Linked DNA regions of Homo sapiens: regions 1, 3, 4, 5, 6 and 7 are each linked to region 2. The links are contacts of gene promoters, found by promoter capture Hi-C in blood cells and fetal thymus (Javierre and others, 2016). All regions are on one chromosome and are shown on one strand. Each heading gives the region's core, a stretch centred on a gene start or on the middle of the fragment in contact. The rest is flanking DNA. Distances are from core to core; before and after follow the strand shown.

What was found. Contacts are between HindIII fragments. The CHiCAGO score rates a contact against its expected background, and 5 or more counts as called.
Region 1: a contact is called between a fragment that was not itself captured here and the fragment with the promoter of UPP1 in region 2, in 1 of 17 cell types (total CD8 T cells). The highest score is 5.8, in total CD8 T cells.
Region 3: a contact is called between the fragment with the promoter of FIGNL1 here and the fragment with the promoter of UPP1 in region 2, in 5 of 17 cell types (naive CD8 T cells, non-activated CD4 T cells, activated CD4 T cells and 2 more). The highest score is 10.6, in naive CD8 T cells.
Region 4: a contact is called between a fragment that was not itself captured here and the fragment with the promoter of UPP1 in region 2, in 2 of 17 cell types (naive CD8 T cells and non-activated CD4 T cells). The highest score is 6.3, in naive CD8 T cells.
Region 5: a contact is called between a fragment that was not itself captured here and the fragment with the promoter of UPP1 in region 2, in 1 of 17 cell types (naive CD4 T cells). The highest score is 9.6, in naive CD4 T cells.
Region 6: a fragment that was not itself captured here is called in contact with the fragment with the promoter of UPP1 in region 2 in 1 of 17 cell types (activated CD4 T cells); the score reaches 6.0 in activated CD4 T cells.
Region 7: a contact is called between a fragment that was not itself captured here and the fragment with the promoter of UPP1 in region 2, in 3 of 17 cell types (total CD8 T cells, naive CD8 T cells and activated CD4 T cells). The highest score is 8.3, in total CD8 T cells.

The regions. Positions count from the first base shown.
Region 1 is chr7:50,432,625-50,435,324 of GRCh38, forward strand. No RefSeq gene overlaps it. Among named protein-coding and RNA genes, the nearest start is that of FIGNL1, 16 kb to the right of the region's middle. The HindIII fragment of the contact is 411 bases long and covers 1,122-1,532 here.
Region 2 is chr7:48,087,959-48,090,658 of GRCh38, forward strand. It overlaps UPP1 (uridine phosphorylase 1), which reads left to right and starts at 1,307. Exons shown (of 9, transcript NM_003364.4): 1 at 1,307-1,460; 2 at 2,230-2,406. RefSeq lists enhancers at 310-839, 652-861, 1,372-1,901 and silencers at 1,002-1,341, 1,682-1,871. The HindIII fragment of the contact is 3,480 bases long and covers 1-2,700 here.
Region 3 is chr7:50,449,064-50,451,763 of GRCh38, forward strand. It overlaps FIGNL1 (fidgetin like 1), which reads right to left and starts at 1,287. Exons shown (of 4, transcript NM_001287492.4): 1 at 1,238-1,287; 2 at 55-660. RefSeq lists silencers at 808-1,102, 1,244-1,433. The HindIII fragment of the contact is 8,767 bases long and covers 1-2,700 here.
Region 4 is chr7:50,360,598-50,363,297 of GRCh38, forward strand. The region is part of intron 3 of IKZF1 (IKAROS family zinc finger 1); the gene reads left to right. Among named protein-coding and RNA genes, the nearest start is that of IKZF1, 57 kb to the left of the region's middle. RefSeq lists enhancers at 1-173, 174-691. The HindIII fragment of the contact is 1,556 bases long and covers 607-2,162 here.
Region 5 is chr7:50,738,588-50,741,287 of GRCh38, forward strand. The region is part of intron 3 of GRB10 (growth factor receptor bound protein 10); the gene reads right to left. Among named protein-coding and RNA genes, the nearest start is that of GRB10, 43 kb to the right of the region's middle. The HindIII fragment of the contact is 1,840 bases long and covers 432-2,271 here.
Region 6 is chr7:50,400,279-50,402,978 of GRCh38, forward strand. It overlaps IKZF1 (IKAROS family zinc finger 1), which reads left to right. Exons shown (of 8, transcript NM_006060.6): 8 at 1-2,700. The coding sequence ends at 349. Among named protein-coding and RNA genes, the nearest start is that of FIGNL1, 49 kb to the right of the region's middle. The HindIII fragment of the contact is 292 bases long and covers 1,285-1,576 here.
Region 7 is chr7:50,343,283-50,345,982 of GRCh38, forward strand. All of the region lies in intron 3 of IKZF1 (IKAROS family zinc finger 1), which reads left to right. Among named protein-coding and RNA genes, the nearest start is that of IKZF1, 40 kb to the left of the region's middle. The HindIII fragment of the contact is 950 bases long and covers 827-1,776 here.

The DNA.
Region 1 (2,700 bases), core at 77-2,576, 2.3 Mb after region 2:
AATTATTTAAGAAAGCTATGTTCAGTACTTTAAAAATAGTATTTGAGTTTTTTAAATTATAAAAGAGTAGATAGTCATTGTACGCAAAACAACCATATTGTGTGTGAGTGAAGTCAAATATGGAAATCTTCCTCCCTCACACAACACATATACCTCCAGAGAGGTAAACACTCTTAACTGTCATTGTATGCCCTTCTGGAGCTTTTTCACATTCCTTTACTTACATATATAAGCACATGGACTATGCGCACCTTGCTTTTTTCATTGAATTATAGAACTTGGAGCTCTTGCCCTATCAGTGCACATACATTGACTTGATTTTTAAAACCCACTGCACAGATCATAGAACAGATTCAGCTATCTTCCACTGATGGATATTTAAGCCATCTATTTTTTACATATTAAAATGTCTCAGTGAACTTATTTATGTAGTATAGATTCCTAGAAGTGGAATCACTTTTGGCGGATATTACCAGATTCCTTTCCAAAAAGGCTAAGTTTATCCACATTCCACAACAGTGGATGCCAGGATCCTACTCTCCAAATATTTGCCAACACTGGGTAATGTCACTATTTCCAAATGCTATGCTAGTATTTTAATAATTTTTAAATTTTAAATTTACATTTTTATGCTTTTAGCTCAATGTGTAAACATCTGTGACTGGTATTTTCTTTCTGTTTGGATGCTTTTAGCTCAATGTGTAAAGGTTTATGATGGATATAAAGGCAAAAACTTCTTAACAGTATAAAATATTTTTCTTTATCGAGTTTATTGCTTTTTACCTTGATTCCTCTTTTTTCTGGTATTAATAATCCTGTTCCTGATCTTTGTTGGCACTTTCCTGTTTATATTTCTATTCCCTTATTTTCAATATTTCTATTTCATTTTATAAAGATAATGTAATTAAACTTTGCCTTTTTACCTAATTTAGGAGGCTATGCTTATTAATCAAGGAAGTTTTTGCATTTGTTATGAATCCTGAAATGTTTCCTCTTTTTCCTGACATCTTATTTAAAATTTTCTCTTTATTAAGCTTTTATTAGTTTCTCTTCACCTTTAAACATTTTTTTCTCAATTTCACGAATTGGGTTTCCTTTGTTTTTTTCTCTTATGATTTGGAAGCTTCATATCCTATTTCTGATCTATGTCCTATTTCTATTTTACTAACAGTTACACTTACATTTTAGACATAAACAAATACATATATATATGTTTTGTTTTGATCTTAATTTATATGATATACACAAATTTAAATATATGTATATTCACATGTTACATATGTTTAGTTAGATGTTTTAGCAATACTGAATACTAATTTTTTATTTAAATGAAAGTGAGCATGTAAAACACCTGATGATCATTTATTAATACAAAGTCATCTATCTACCTCAAGTATTAAACAGGCATAACACAAACAGTAAATTAAAAGGCAATGTTAGAAACACATTATTTTGTGAGTTTCAAACTTCAGTATCAACAACTTCAGGGACATTTTTCAATAAAAACATCTATCAATAATAGCACTATTCCAAGCTTTCTATTTTTTTATAGCCTTATGTTCTTTTGCTCTTCAATATGTAGTACTTCTAAATTATTTGTAACTATTAATAAAATATTACTTTTTAAACTTTTCCTCTGAAAATAATTTTATGGTATGATTTGCACCACATGAGTTTAGATAATGGAATGAGCCTGAACTGCAGCAAAATGCCTAACAATGAAGGCTAAGAGTTTTTAAAGATCAGTGTCCAAATCTGTGGCAATGTTGGGGTAACAGGATGTGAGGCTCTTAAGGAGCAGAAGCCAGTCTGTTTCTGTGAAGCACCAGATTCTCAACTTTTACCTTAAAGGTATAAAAATTAAATTATTTTGCAGTTCAAAAGGCTGCCTGCAGATATACCGCACAGAGTTGTAAGGGAAACAGCCTTAATTACAGACATGGTCACGGATGCTATACTGGTCTAGATCTGCCCTGTCCAACGTGGCGGCCTCTGGTCTCATGTGACTGAGCGCTTGAACTATGGTGAGGTGGAACTGAGATGTGCTTTAAATGCAAAATATACACCAGATTTCAAAGACTCAATACGAAGAAGAAAAATTTATATAAAGTATCTCATAAACAATTCTTATATTGATTACATGTTGAAATAGGATATTAATTTCACCTGGTTCCTTTTACTATTTTAATATGGCTACCAGGTTTAAAATTTCATATGTGGTTCTCATTATTCAGAGGTAATATGTTAATTATCATTTTCTTGGAGTTCCAATAATTGTCTTGGCAACATCTGTGACAGTTCCAGGTCTGCCTAGTTTAATTCAGTCCAAAGGATTTCAGCAGTAATTTGCTGAAAACAGGAGGGAGTATCCTCTCTTTAATGAGACAAATGTCTACTGAAGTCATTTTCATGGCAAAATGGTAGCTGCCTTTTTTTGATTTAGTTATTATCATATGTTCCAACTTCATGATAGGGCTCAGTAATGGGAGCAGTGGCTGAATTTCTGAGTCTGGATTTACTTTGTTTTTGTACCATATTATTCCTGTTTTTCTAACTACTCAGAGCCCTTGCAGTTGATAAATTACACTAAACTACTCCTGTGCTCCATAGATATATTACTCTAAAATCCTGACTTCTTATTGTTATTGTTGTCCTCTATGAAGAGTAACATCCAAGCCTCCTGACAATATCATCCTTTTA
Region 2 (2,700 bases), core at 57-2,556:
CTCGGCCTCCCAAAGTGCTGGGATTACAGGTGTGAGCCACTGCGCCTGGCCGTACTTTCATTTTCAATAAAACCCTTAATTCCTTCCTTGATTTGTTTGTGTGTTTCACTCTTGTCACCCAGTATGGAGTGCAATGGCGCGATCTCGGCTCACTGCATCCTTCGCTGGGTTCAAGCAATTCTCCTGCCTCGGCCTGCCTAGTACCTGGGATTACAGGCACGCGACACCACGTCCAGCTAATTTTTTGTATTTTTAGTAGTGACGGGGTTTCACCATGTTGGGCAGGCTGGTCTCGAACTCCTGACCTCAGGTGATCCATCCGCCTCGGCCTTCCAAAGTGCTGGGATTACAGGCGTGAGCCACCACTCCCGGCCCAACCCCATGTTTTCTCAGGAACTGGAGTTCCCTTTAGGAAGCAAGTAACAGAGGTGCTGGGCTGCCCGGGCCTCTAGGTCGTCTTCTTTCCCAGGCTCTGTGCTCTCACCAGAGTGCGCGTTCGGGAAGCAGGGAGAGGACCAGGAAAGACGCCTGAGACGGAGAGTGGGCACCGGCCGGGGGCAGGCAGGTCCGGCCCCTGGGGGTCAGAGTGCAGCGCCGGTTTGAGGCAGTTCGGCCACTTAGCTGCGACTCGAAGTGAATGAGTCACTTCCCCTCCTCGGGCGAGCTCCTGGCTTTGCCCCAGCAAGCGGGAACTCCCAGGATCAGGAAGGTCCCAGAGAAACTCCCCAGGGGGGAAGCCGAGGCCGTCCAGAGAGATCCAGGGTACACACAGTGACAGTGCCAGCTCCACATTCCCGACCACCGGGCCAGGGCTGGTTCCACGCTGTCATTTCTCTCCGCTGGCCCCAGCCGCGGGGCCACCGCCAGACAGACAGACCGGGGATCCTGCCTGGCGGCGTGACCTTGGGTTAGTCCTAGAGCCGCTTCTAGCCCGGTTTCCTCCGCCCCAGGTTAGGACCACGTGGGTAAGAAGATTTCCTCTGTAGTAGGGGCTGTTTAATGAGTAACAGAACTGGCTGCTGGTTCTTTACAATTGCCCAGCTGCTCTGCAGAGGCGAGAAGCAATTGCGGGCTGAGCCTCCCGGGACCTTCGCGGGAGGGTGGAGAGGAGGAAGGCGGGGGAGGCGGGGCCAGAGGGGCAGAGGAAGGTGGGGGCGGGCGGGGCTTGTCTGCGGGATGGCCCAGGATGCGGTCAGCTGAGTTCGCCGGCCCAGGGCAGGCGGGGCCCGAGCCTAGCGGTAACCCCCGGGCAGGGCGGGGCCGCTCGCAGACTCCATATGAGATTCACCTCGCAGGTGGTTCCCTCATTCGAGTGCTCCGGCGCACAGACCCGCGCCCCGCCGTCTGCGAGCCTCCCGAGAGCCGTCCCTTCGTCCGGCCCTGGAGCATTGCGTTTGTCGCCGGTGTCGCAGTGCGAGGATGGCGCCGCGGGTGTAGCGGCTCTCTGCGCAGGCCGAGTGGTGAGTCGCCCGCGGCCCGGCTCCCGCCGTTCTCTCTTCCCAGGGGTCTAGCCCGTCCCCTGCCTTGGCCACGTGCCCATTTACCTGTAGGGGCGGTGACGGAGGCTCTGGTGCACCTTGGCTGTGAGCTGCAGAGGAGCAGAGAGCGGCCCGGCGCGGCTGCGCGGGGAGGCGGGCGCGCGGCCGGGAGGTTCTGGGGCTGGTGTGTGCGGAGCGAGGTGGGCGTGGGGGAAGCGCGCGGGCGGGATGTGCTTCCTCGGGTCCACCCCGTGCCTACCTCTCCCACGTCCCGGCGACGGAGCGCGCGGGGCTCTGGGCGGGGAGCCCACCGGGCCGAGGCGCAGCGAGGGTGAAGCCAGAGCCGGCAGGGTCAGGTCCCGCAGGGCGCAGGCGGGCGCTTCTCGCAGCCCAAACCCGGGCGGGGAGTGCGGGAACCCCTAGAACTATGCTGGGAGCCCCAGATAAGAGGAAGGAGATGGTGACTTAAGTGACGAAGTGATGTTTTGTCCCCACCGCCTTTTAAAGGGAGAAGGGGGTAAAATTTCATTTGGAGGATGATTGTTACGCGAGCTTTCAGAGTTCAGATGGCGTCAAGTGGCCATCGAGTCAACATTTAACAAAATGTTACCGCATAAAATATTGTCATCGAGTTATCTGGCAGCTCCGCAGAGAAACTTCACAGGCATATGCGTTATATGACATAATTTGCATGGGGAAGGGGGTCCCTTCACGATTCTTTTATATGGCAACCTGTTCTTGGACCTGGCAGGGCCCAGAGAAGCGAGGAACTCCGCAGCTCGTCGACACGTCTCGTCTCCTGTCCCAATTCAGGGCTTGGTGAGGTGACTCGCGGTCGCGGGTGACTCGCCGGCAGGACACTGCCTGGAACGCCTGGAGCGCCTCCCACTGCAGACGTCTGTCCGCCTCCAGCCGCTCTCCTCTGACGGTCAGTTTCAAAGAAACACAGTCTGGGATCCGGAGTAGAAAGAGGCCGTTTCCCGTGAAGGCCATAGAGGCAGTTTCCAGGCGCCTGGGTGACCTGTCTCTGCACTTCCCTCTCTGCTTCTCCATCCCTGTTTCCTTTCCCCACTGTCCCCTGCCTGGCCTTTCTTTGGCTCATTTTCTGCCTTCCTGGGGTCTTCTGGTTAAAAAGACCATTGGTTCCATTCATTGGCTGTAACCGCGGGTCTTTAAAAAACTTTGTGACTTCCTTGAATAGAAAGAATGTCTTACTCTGGAT
Region 3 (2,700 bases), core at 37-2,536, 2.4 Mb after region 2:
TCTCCATGGCTTCATTCCCCTTTATCATCTGTTATCCTGAAATTTCTACCATACCTCAGAGTTCTAGTCACTGTTCTCAGAATAAACCCCCTTCTCTTTTCCATCTTCACCTTTCCTTCAATATTCATCTTCCAAGTCTTACTTCTTCCTTTCAATTCAATCATTTAAATGGCAAATAAGGATAACCAAAAACTGGCCATCACCGATCAGTGACACAACCATTGTCTTGTTTACCATTTCCAAGTCAATTTAACCTTTATGGCCTTTCCTAGATCTAAAAAGTATGATTAATTAGCACTGTCATATGAACTGCATTTCAATCTTCTTTATTTTGCCAATGTTCTGATTATTTTAATAATGTCATTATCTGTCTTCCTAGACAGTTGGCTTCTGCAGGGAGGAATTGTTTTCCATTCCATTCACATTGTCTTAGTACCTAGAATACAGTGTCCTTTGGAATAATAGCTACTAAAATACTGACGGAGTGCCTACTCAGTACCAAGCACTGTGCAAGCCTTTCATAGGATTCTGTTCTTGATGCAAAACGGGAGTTAAGAGCACAGGGTCTGGAGCCAGGCTGCCTGCTTTCAAATCCTGGCTCTATCATCTGCCAGCAGTGACTGCAGGAAAATCTCTTAATGTCTTTCTGCCGGTTTTCACCTATAAAAGAAGCGCAGCAACATCACTGAGCTGACAAGGTATTTTAATTCTGCAAAGCACTAGACAGAGGACTCAGCACTTAGAAAATACTCTATAAAATACTGCTTCTTCTGATTCCTCACGATGACCCCTGAAAGGTATGAGCCCTTCTTTCTCATCACAGAGATTAAGAGCTTGCCTGGGTCACAGGGGAACTGACTGACCCCCGCTGTGGGCGCCCAGAGCCCCGCTGGGCCCAGTAAATGCCTGCGGTAAGCGGCCCCGCCCCCGGACAGGCTCTGCCAAAGGAAGCCGCCCGCAGACCTGGCCCCGAGCCTGCCGTCCACGCCGGGCCCCAGCTTCCTAATCCTGGATGAGTCTGGTTCTGGGCTAGCGGGTCAGCCACCCTCCCGCTAAGACAGAAGCAAAAGGGCACAGCCACTGCCTGGCTCCCGCCTCCCACGGCCTCCCGCGAAGTCACCGCCCCGCGACCCCCAGCATTCCAGAGGCACACGCCCGCCTCTCCCCTACGCCCCAACCCTGATGCTCCACAGGGGTCAGCAGCGCCCCTGCCCCGCCTCCCGTCACCGCATCCTACCTGCGGCTGGTGTGGGACGCTGGCAGCCTCCGAAAAGCGCGGGGACTGACGTGCGCCTGCGCGCTGCTGTCGCCCTCGGACTCGCGCCGTACGTGCGTGCGTGAGTGCGTGAGTGCGTGCGTGCGTGCGTTCGGCGCGCGGGGCGTGGGCGCGGCACCTGGGCCCGGGCACCGCCACCTAGGCCCTAGCTCCGACCAGTGGTGTTCTATAAACGCTTATTACATCATTGTGCATAGGCTTCATTTTTAAAAGTACTCCCAAATAAATACAAGGAGGCGATGGAAATTGAATGAAGATTCGAAGGATTCCCATAGAGCGTGGCTCACTTCCCCTCACCGGGACAGCGAGCGGCGGCTCACCTGGGAGAGCAAAGCGTGGCTCTCCTGCGCCCACCCGGGAGAGCAAACAATGGCTCACCTGCGCCCACCCGGGAGAGCAAGCGTGGCTCACCTGCGCCCACTCGGGAAAGCCAGCCGCCATCCTGTGCTGCAGGCAGGGAGCGGGCGGCGGGAGAGGAGCGGATCCACTTAGGTCAGCGGTTAAAACGTCGTTACAAGAGGCCACCCCGGCATCGCGGGGCCTGTGGCTGCGCCCCCTCTTGAATTCAGGCCTAGCACATCACCTCCGCCCCTCGCACCCTGCAGTCTGCGCTCCATACAGCACGTGAGCGGGTGCTCAGCAATGTTCCCTGGCTGAAAGAACCGCATAGAGTAGCATGCAAAAATGACATGCATGTTTAAGATAAAATAAGGGAGAGGACACCTGTTCTGACTGAGTCTGGCAACTCAGATCTCCCCGCAGCCAACATCTACATTCCTTTGGACAGCTGTCTGCTGTGTAGGGACACCTCCCTGGAACTTTGAAAAGCACCCCATCATTACCTTCCACTTTGTTCTGGAGCAAGGTTTCAAAAGAAGAGTGCCGTATTTTGATTAATTTAGTGAATTGGATTTTCAGACACAAGTAAGAGCATCCACTCAGTGGCCTCTGCAGTAAATAATGATATCAGATCACATAACAAGAAGACTGGAGGTTGGCGGGAAATCTGGACCTGGTGACTCAAAGAAGTCATGAAGGACCATCTCTCCATTCTGCCACCTTCTCGCCTGTGGATTTTCCTCCCCAGGCTTGTCACTTCATTGTCGAGAGATGCCCTCACAATCCAAGCCAGGCAGCCTCACATGACCAGATCTAAAACACAAAGAGGGAGCCAAACTGAGAAAGGACCTTTTCCCTCTGAACACTTCTCTCTTGGAAAAAGAAAATGTTTCCCAGAAAGCCTCATAGCCTTCCTCTTATATCTCCTTGACTAACTGGGACCCGGATCCCTGGATATCCTTTCCTGAGAAAGAGAGGGTCTGGGGCAGGGGATAGAGAAAATGACTAGCAACTAGCAGCACATGATGTTTAAACATAAGATTTAAAGAAATGCAAGGCACAAACAATTTGAAGACTTTTTTTAA
Region 4 (2,700 bases), core at 135-2,634, 2.3 Mb after region 2:
TTCTGTAAGAGTGTGCTACTGGGAAAACCACATCTAAAACACGTGTGCAGTTACATCAGCTAGAGCACATGCTAAACAGTTGATCAAAGGCTCTTGCCTTGTGGCCCACGCTGCAGACACTCTGACGACTGCCGAGCTCCGCAGCCCCATGTCGTCCCTTCCGCACTGCCTGCTGTGCCTCTCCTCTCCATGTGGCAGGGAACACAGCCAGTCATCACCATGTGGCTCTGCCCGGCGCTGCCCCAGCATGTCCTGACAGGGCCTAGATATGGAAAGGTGGCTCTCCATGCACACACCCCAAGCCCCTCCTGCCCGCCGTGTGACCCACACTCTTATGGGCAGCCCAGTTATTTTGTAGCATTTCCCTTCCTTATCATTTTGGCCCAGTGATCCAGCACAAATCTCCCTTATTAGAATAAAATTTGGAATGACAAAATTAAATTTCATTTTTCACTTATATTGAGGACCTCACACTCTTCACCCCTGCCACGATCCCTGACAAGAGCCTTCCTATCTAATCATTGTTCCTCCAGCCCTCTTAGTTTTCTTCAGCCTTTCTTGATTGCCTGAATGTCCCTTTCCCTTCTCCTTTTAAAGCATGAACCAAGCTTTCTTACCCCGTTCTCATTATCATTTTTGCATTTTCTTCTTTGCATATGATTCTCCTTAAATTATAAAACTTGGGGGTAATTTCTAGAGGTGCCATCATAGTGCTTCTGTCTACTCAGTGTCTTTAGAATCAGCAAATATCATTTTTACAAAAAAGTAGTATTTCTTCCAAAAAAGAGTAAGCAAGAAGGTTACAACACTGGGAAAATATCCCTAAGCCTGTTCTTCAACCTGTTGAATGTTTTCCCCTAAATTGTTATATGGAGATCCTGGACCCGGAAGTTGGCTGACATGAAACAGGCCTAGCAGGGCAGCTGAGGAAATGCTCCAACCTCAGGATCCAGGAAGATTGCACATGGCACCAAAACAATCATTTAAAAGCTAATCCTGGCCAGGCACAGTGGCTCACGCCTGTAATCCCAGCACTTTGGGAGGCCGAGGTGGGCTGATCACAAGGTCAAGAGATCGAGACCATCCTGACCAACATGGTGAAACCCCATCTCTACCAAAAGTACAAATATTAGCTGGGCATGGTGGTGCGCGCCTGTAGTCCCAGCTACCCGGGAGGCTGAGGCAGGAGAATCACTTGAACCCGGGAGGAGGAGGTTGCAGTGAGCCAAGATCATGCCACTGCACTCCAGCCTGGTGACAGAGCAAGACTCCATCTCAAAAAAGAAAAAAAAAGCTAATCCCATAAAAGAACCATCATTTTGAACCTGCTGTTTCCTTTCTTGTACTCTTTAGAAGTACCCATTTCTCCCTTTCTAAGCCATAGGTGTATTAATTGGAGCTTTTTCTATCTTAATTAGTTCACTGTGAACAATTAAAATTGTGTTAATAAAACAAAAACAAAAATAGGACTGGTGCCTAGTTGTACTACATGAAGAGAGAAAGGGCCAGACATTGGTTTTTCCTAATCTTCTGTCAAGTTCTCCAAATCATCTGCTCTGGAAGGTAGCTCCAACAGCTGGGATTTGAAGTAAAGCATAGTGACTTTGGCCATCACTGACATGTCCCATTTGAAGCAACCAAAACTGTCCCTCGACCTGACACTCATCCCTGAAACACCATGAGGGTAAGTGAGGCGCTTCGGAAGGTCCACTCAACCCCATTGCCAGATAGAGTAAGTGTCTGCCAGGGGCATTTGGAGCTGAAGGGAAGACTGTACAGACTCACGGTTTGCAGGCACTGAAGGCGTTTTCCTGCCTTCTTTTTCACCTTCAGTGGACTTGCAAAGCACTAGCCCTATTGTTTTTCCCATCTGGGAAACATGGTGAATGTTGGTTGGTTGTAGCTAATCCTATGGGTCTTGAGGTCTTTGTTGACAAGAAGGTAGATGTTATCTTTATCTGCGTGTGGCTTTCTACTAAAACATGAGCTACAGGGCTCTCTTTTTTGTTTTAAAGCATTTTTCCATAAGGTTCACCCTTACTATTGCTTATCTGAATAATATTACCTGCTGAGAAGTTTATTCATTGCTCACCAGTTGTAGGGAGATTTTGACACAGGACTGGAGGATTTTTTTCTCATCGTAACAGTGCAGACCCATGGAAAGCTTGGAAGCAGTTGTGACCGGATAAGAGCAGGTTGAGGATGATAATCTTAGGGCAATGAGCAGGTTGATTGAGAGGGGTGCCTGAAAGCAAGGTCCCCATGATGCAAGCAAACAAACTCACATGCCAGACGGTGGACAGGAAACACAGGCAGGATGTGGTGCAGGCTGGGCTGCCTTGGCTGGGCAAAGGCAGGGGCTTCATGGCCATGCTGGGATGTGACGTGGTTGGAAAACAATAAGAATGGAGACCTCTCCAAAGACCTCAGACATAATTTGGCCATGAGAGGCAAGGGTAGAGGCGAGCCCCCTGTGGGTTGGAATGTATGGAATCCAGATGAAGCACCATCAACATGCATGGGCTACATAGGAGAGCTGGGTCTGGGGGAAAAGATGGGATTTGGGTTTGGGTGTGCATGTTCCAGGCATGGAGGGAAGAATGGGCAGAATGACGAGGATCAAGCCCTGGTGGAGCCCCCAGACCAGGGCCCTGGGCATATTTCCACTTGCCTTCTTCTGCAAACTTTTGTGTGCCTGTT
Region 5 (2,700 bases), core at 102-2,601, 2.7 Mb after region 2:
TCACCACCATGCCCAGATAAAAAGCTCACTTCTGAACATCCTACAGTTATACAACTGGATCATCTACTGTGCTACTTTAAAGAGTTCAGATTCTAAATCATCAGCTGATTTATCAAAATATGTGATTCATATTCACAGATAATGAGGAATAGTTTTATAAGCCAGTAGATAGATAGCAGCTTTCTGTCTATAATAACTAAAGACTTTCTCATTAACCGTTGTCAGATGATTAAGAAATTGTATCAATATCTGTTGTCTTTTTGCTTCCCTTGATTAAAAGGGCCTACTAACAAGTTTGGCTTGCTGTGGTGGTTTCACATTGTTCTTTTAATGTCGAAGGTTAAACCCTCCTTTGCAAGATTATCATTATAAATAATATATTAAAATTTGTTTATTTTAATTAATGAAAATTTAAATAATCTTCATGATAAAGCTTAAACTTCTTTATTGGACTATAGTTCAGAAAAATCGTTCAAGCAGAGTCAAAAGTTTACTCATTCTAAAGTCAACATTTTTCTTAACAATGCCAATATTTACACTTCTGGATCCAGCAGCTGAAGTTGAACGTCTTTGTGTTTCCGATTATATGGGTTGTTTTTTGTTTTTCCATGTTAGGGCAACTTGTACTAGTTAAATTAAAATGATACAACTGTCATAAACTTCAAAAATGTTGCACCCAATAACACTTTTTCTGAAAAGTACATTGGGTGTTCCTAACTGAAACTCTAGAGTCTAGCAGACTGTAGATGATACTCTTAGGCCCTCACCTCGCAGCTAATTGCAAATTATGTTTATGGTGGATTTAAACTGTAGAGCGTTTACCCTCCCTTCTGAAAAGATAGTCAAATAGACATCTTCTAACCCAATGCCAGTAAGCAGATGACCAAATGACACATCCGTGACCAATCCATGCTCACCTTGTCTATCCCGCATGGCATGTGGCTCATCACACATGGCAACGTACTAAGTGCATGCTAAGAACCCATGCAATCCACTCTCATATTTCCTTTTCTGTTCTACTGTATTTATTAAAAACGCTTTTCATGACCTACTAACTTGATTTCAAGACCCGGTAACAGGTTGAAACCTACAGTTTGAAAATAGGGCAGGGCTGTGTTTGGGCTTGTGGTCAACATCGGGGTCACCAACTTCAGTTGGAGGGCCCGCTCCCTCACGTCCCCTCCCATGCCTGCCCCTTCACATCCAAGTGCTGTCCAGGGCACAGAGAGGCTGGCCCACTGGCCTTTCTCTTTCTATTCCCTCTTCACCCCTCAGTCCTCATTTCTCTCCTCCCTGACTCAGGAGAGCCAGAAACATTCCCAGCAAACACCACAGCTCTTATGCCACCTCTTCCTGTGACTCCCGCTCTTTGAAAACACAGCTCATCTGCTTAAAGGAACCTAGCCAGCCCGGAAACTGTGTGAGGCTGGAGGGAAAGTCATGTGACTGTGCCACATGAATCCTTTCTTTTGTTATTTAGCCACAAATCCAAAATGTGCATTTAACAGTACTAGAACATTTTACTGCATTCCTTAGGAAATCTACATTGAACGTGTGTTTCAGAATTTCTCCTCTCTCCCCCAGAACACTGGCCCCCACTTGCCAGTCACTCAGATGACAGTCGCATGTCTGCCACACCTGACCCATTCAAGTGGCACACCATTCTAGCTCATCGCCCTGGTGTATCTTCTCCATGGCAACAACCACTTCCTGACAGCTTCACTTTTGAGACAGTCACAAACCCCATCTTGTTCAAGAACTCAGTCTTGTTCCCTGCCATACCCAGAACAGCAGATAGTAACAGGGACCCAAGAAAGATCTGCTGACTAATAAGGGTAAGTTGTACAATTAATGATGATTGGGTTAAATAATAAAATTCAATTCAAAATTTAAAATTTTAGAAAGACGTTTTGAGTCTTAAATCATCATAGAATTGTTTTTTTAAAAGCTGTACCTTCCATAAAAGCCAGAAGATCCTACTCTTTATTAAGAAAAATATAATTGAGCAATGTTCACGGTATATTAAAATAATCACATGTAGAATGGAAAACAATATTTACATTCTAAGCCATAATAAAAACATTAAAAGAAACTCATAATTCTTTAAACATCAAAGGGAAAATAGATGAAGACACATTCATTCGAAACCCAAACAATTTGCAACAGAAGAGAGAAGACATAGCAGTAAATGTCAGTCATCCAATTCTCCTTTTCAAAATAATATTCAAAACCATTCTAATGAAAAAAAAAAATACCCAAGGCAAATAGAAAAGCTTTAAAAAGGGAGCTAGAAAAGAAAAAGACAGAATGGACAGATATAAAAACCAAACACAATGCAAACAAAATAAAAGCAATGGTAGCAATGATAGTCAAGTGTCACTTAAAGCAAAGAAACAATAATCCAAATACTAAAAAGCATTGATAAAAGCATAATTGATAATGAATAAAAACAGTATTATCCTCCAAACAGCAAAGTATCAAAATACAAAGAGCTAAAATTAGAAGCAAGTTTAATAAAAAGTTTACACTTCAATAAAAAGTTTACATTAAAAACAAACACTATGAGAGTCTCAAGGAGAAAACGAGGAAAACTAGTTGTTGCAGATGTTGGTCTATTATGTAGGACAAAGAAATAAAATTGGAATGAGTAATGAGAAGGCATTAATTGATATTTATGAAAAACAGGCATTTGCAAATATT
Region 6 (2,700 bases), core at 181-2,680, 2.3 Mb after region 2:
CGAGGAGCAGCGCAGCGGTCTCATCTACCTGACCAACCACATCGCCCCGCACGCGCGCAACGGGCTGTCGCTCAAGGAGGAGCACCGCGCCTACGACCTGCTGCGCGCCGCCTCCGAGAACTCGCAGGACGCGCTCCGCGTGGTCAGCACCAGCGGGGAGCAGATGAAGGTGTACAAGTGCGAACACTGCCGGGTGCTCTTCCTGGATCACGTCATGTACACCATCCACATGGGCTGCCACGGCTTCCGTGATCCTTTTGAGTGCAACATGTGCGGCTACCACAGCCAGGACCGGTACGAGTTCTCGTCGCACATAACGCGAGGGGAGCACCGCTTCCACATGAGCTAAAGCCCTCCCGCGCCCCCACCCCAGACCCCGAGCCACCCCAGGAAAAGCACAAGGACTGCCGCCTTCTCGCTCCCGCCAGCAGCATAGACTGGACTGGACCAGACAATGTTGTGTTTGGATTTGTAACTGTTTTTTGTTTTTTGTTTGAGTTGGTTGATTGGGGTTTGATTTGCTTTTGAAAAGATTTTTATTTTTAGAGGCAGGGCTGCATTGGGAGCATCCAGAACTGCTACCTTCCTAGATGTTTCCCCAGACCGCTGGCTGAGATTCCCTCACCTGTCGCTTCCTAGAATCCCCTTCTCCAAACGATTAGTCTAAATTTTCAGAGAGAAATAGATAAAACACGCCACAGCCTGGGAAGGAGCGTGCTCTACCCTGTGCTAAGCACGGGGTTCGCGCACCAGGTGTCTTTTTCCAGTCCCCAGAAGCAGAGAGCACAGCCCCTGCTGTGTGGGTCTGCAGGTGAGCAGACAGGACAGGTGTGCCGCCACCCAAGTGCCAAGACACAGCAGGGCCAACAACCTGTGCCCAGGCCAGCTTCGAGCTACATGCATCTAGGGCGGAGAGGCTGCACTTGTGAGAGAAAATACTATTTCAAGTCATATTCTGCGTAGGAAAATGAATTGGTTGGGGAAAGTCGTGTCTGTCAGACTGCCCTGGGTGGAGGGAGACGCCGGGCTAGAGCCTTTGGGATCGTCCTGGATTCACTGGCTTTGCGGAGGCTGCTCAGATGGCCTGAGCCTCCCGAGGCTTGCTGCCCCGTAGGAGGAGACTGTCTTCCCGTGGGCATATCTGGGGAGCCCTGTTCCCCGCTTTTTCACTCCCATACCTTTAATGGCCCCCAAAATCTGTCACTACAATTTAAACACCAGTCCCGAAATTTGGATCTTCTTTCTTTTTGAATCTCTCAAACGGCAACATTCCTCAGAAACCAAAGCTTTATTTCAAATCTCTTCCTTCCCTGGCTGGTTCCATCTAGTACCAGAGGCCTCTTTTCCTGAAGAAATCCAATCCTAGCCCTCATTTTAATTATGTACATCTGTTTGTAGCCACAAGCCTGAATTTCTCAGTGTTGGTAAGTTTCTTTACCTACCCTCACTATATATTATTCTCGTTTTAAAACCCATAAAGGAGTGATTTAGAACAGTCATTAATTTTCAACTCAATGAAATATGTGAAGCCCAGCATCTCTGTTGCTAACACACAGAGCTCACCTGTTTGAAACCAAGCTTTCAAACATGTTGAAGCTCTTTACTGTAAAGGCAAGCCAGCATGTGTGTCCACACATACATAGGATGGCTGGCTCTGCACCTGTAGGATATTGGAATGCACAGGGCAATTGAGGGACTGAGCCAGACCTTCGGAGAGTAATGCCACCAGATCCCCTAGGAAAGAGGAGGCAAATGGCACTGCAGGTGAGAACCCCGCCCATCCGTGCTATGACATGGAGGCACTGAAGCCCGAGGAAGGTGTGTGGAGATTCTAATCCCAACAAGCAAGGGTCTCCTTCAAGATTAATGCTATCAATCATTAAGGTCATTACTCTCAACCACCTAGGCAATGAAGAATATACCATTTCAAATATTTACAGTACTTGTCTTCACCAACACTGTCCCAAGGTGAAATGAAGCAACAGAGAGGAAATTGTACATAAGTACCTCAGCATTTAATCCAAACAGGGGTTCTTAGTCTCAGCACTATGACATTTTGGGCTGACTACTTATTTGTTAGGCGGGAGCTCTCCTGTGCATTGTAGGATAATTAGCAGTATCCCTGGTGGCTACCCAATAGACGCCAGTAGCACCCCGAATTGACAACCCAAACTCTCCAGACATCACCAACTGTCCCCTGCGAGGAGAAATCACTCCTGGGGGAGAACCACTGACCCAAATGAATTCTAAACCAATCAAATGTCTGGGAAGCCCTCCAAGAAAAAAAATAGAAAAGCACTTGAAGAATATTCCCAATATTCCCGGTCAGCAGTATCAAGGCTGACTTGTGTTCATGTGGAGTCATTATAAATTCTATAAATCAATTATTCCCCTTCGGTCTTAAAAATATATTTCCTCATAAACATTTGAGTTTTGTTGAAAAGATGGAGTTTACAAAGATACCATTCTTGAGTCATGGATTTCTCTGCTCACAGAAGGGTGTGGCATTTGGAAACGGGAATAAACAAAATTGCTGCACCAATGCACTGAGTGAAGGAAGAGAGACAGAGGATCAAGGGCTTTAGACAGCACTCCTTCAATATGCAATCACAGAGAAAGATGCGCCTTATCCAAGTTAATATCTCTAAGGTGAGAGCCTTCTTAGAGTCAGTTTGTTGCAAATTTCACCTACTCTGTTCT
Region 7 (2,700 bases), core at 52-2,551, 2.3 Mb after region 2:
CTTTTCTCCATCCCTTTCTTCCTTTTAACATTTGATCATGGGTACCATTTCATCAAGATTCTGTTACTTAGGTCCAAGGACTAGTGACCAAATTGTTTTTCCCAGGAGTAAACTTTTCTACAAGACATAGAGAAATGACTGCCAGTGCCATCAGGCACACCATCCTGTGTGATAGGTAACCTAAAATAATGGTACAGCGGGGAGTAACTGGAAGAGTCACAACTACACAAATCTCTTGCATTTTCCTGATCATTAAATGAATTAGGGATTTCCTGGTTTGAGATTTGTGGACAAGGAGAACTACTTCTTTGTACAAGAGGCTTGTGCCAGGAGAAGACACGCTGTGGTTACAATGTTACTGTCTCTAGCTATGGTCATTTCATGTCTTTAACTGAGTGTACCTAGAGTGTAATACAGTGCAGCAGTGATGGGCTGAAGGCCTAATGCACCAGCACACATGCCTGGAAGACCTAACGTTGAGAATCCGCATTTTTTTCATCACTCACATTTATTTTGCATCTCCCTGTTTTGATTACCTTCAGAGACCCAAGCACTTGCTTTTGTATATTTGAGTCTGGGTTTTATTTTCCTTTTAGAAATAGTCCAAAATCCTTTTAGAGCCTAGACCTTTGAATAAAGTGCTAACTTAACCTGAGGAATGCTGTTTTTTTGTTCACAAATAAGGCTTAATTGTGAAGTCGTGAGAATTGCTTTCTGAGCTGACTTATAAATTTACCCACCTCTTTTTCCCCAAACCCCCAAAAAATCCTCCAGAAGGTGAGCCCAGCTTGTTGTAAAAGATTTTGAAGCAGAAGTCCTGGGTTTAAGCTTCAGTTCTCTGCCTTACCAGAATCGGGATGTGTGGGGCAGGCCTACCTCCTCTTTCTTCATCTGCAAAATACATTGAATGAAATCATATTTTTTCCTAAGTATATGACATGTAAAGTGGTATTTCAAAAACTCATTAATCTGCATGACCAGGTCAGAAAAGACACACCTTTTGCCTTGTGTCTAGTGTGTGACTGTCCTCACATGTAGATGACCCAGGCCACATCCGCTGATGTTGTCTTCCTTTACTTCTTTGTCCCTTCCAATGACTCCTTTATGAAGTCAATCAGCAGTGTTTCTAAGCCAGGTTCCTTCTCTTCACACATCCCCAACCCACAGGGCAAGTCATCCACATTTTGCCTCTCTATTTTTTGTGCTTTGGGAAACACATTTTACAACTTCCAAACTATTTGCCTAAGTTCATCTGAGCACATCTAGAATTATTCCACTCCTCTGCATCAGTGCTAAAAGTACAATCATGTATAAGCTGTTATACTCCCGTTATTTTGTACCTCATGTGCAGGTAGATTGCAAGTTCCTTGCAGGCAGGTACTACATCTACTTGAATTGCTTCACGATCACATAACACAATGCAGTGTTAAAAGTAGAAAAGTAATTGACATCTTGACTAACAGAAACACTAAATTCAGTGTATTGTGATGATACCTTTTTAAGAGATAGGCTATAGAAATAGAAAATCATCTTAGTTGGAATTGAAAGTCAAGAAGCAACATTTTAAGTAAGAGATGAAAATACTTAAAAGGGAAAGGAGCAGTGCTTACACAGATGAGGGGAAAAAATAAAATGTATCATCTAAAAATTTAAATCAAATATATTAGGTTGGTGCAAAAGTAACTGCGATTTTTGCCATTAAAAGTAATAGCAAAAACCACGGTTACTTTTGCACCAACCTAATAGATGGGAAAAATAAGAGGAATGAATATTTTAAGCTTTGCTATATAATTAAAATATTCTTAGAAGTCTGGAGTCTGTGAAGGTCACACCCTCTGGTCTTCTCCCAGCCCATAGGGTATAAATAATCTGAATTGACGGCATCCAGGGATCTCAGAAATTATTAGTACATCCCACAGTGAATTACCACCTTACTAAAATATTCATGGGTATATACTATGGATTTGTTTTATCCTATTTAGTCTTAAAAACTATAAAGAAATCTGCAGGCTTATTAACATATTACTCAGAATCATATTGTCTCCAAAGCACAAACTGAATCAGTTACAAGATATTGGACTAGAGATCATGGCAAATCAGAGGTACATAAGACCTAGTTCCGTTGTGGAGCTAAACAAACTGCAGAGACCTAAAGGGAAGCCTTGCACCACACTCTAGGTTTGGAGCTCAGGTTTTGAGTGGTGTCAGCACTCCAGAACACATGGGATCCCCGGGAGGTGGAAATTGAGCCGTCTTTGGAGAATCAGCTAATGAGACAGATGCATGTTAAATGTCTGTTGTGGCCCAGGCACTCTGCTAGGCAGAGGGGTGAACCAGAAGAATGAGATTCATGGGGCCAAAGAATTTGCCTTCTGGTGTAAGAAAAGATGGAGGCAGCTTGGCAGAAAGAAAAAAAAGGTAAAAGATAGAAATGAAATACAGAATAATCTATCTCCTCATCCCACAAGCAATTCTGCCTGGTTTGTGGCTCACGCCTGTAATCCCAGCACTTTGGGAGGCCGAGGCAGGAGGATCACTTGAGGTCAGGAGTTCGAGACTAGCCTGGACCACAAGGTGAAACCTCATCTCTACTAAAAATGCAAAAAAATTTAGGGCCGGGTGCAGTGGCAGTTCTGCCTGGTTTGAACATCTGGTTCAGTTAAAATACTTCATGAAAATATTTAGCTTGATGCACTGAAA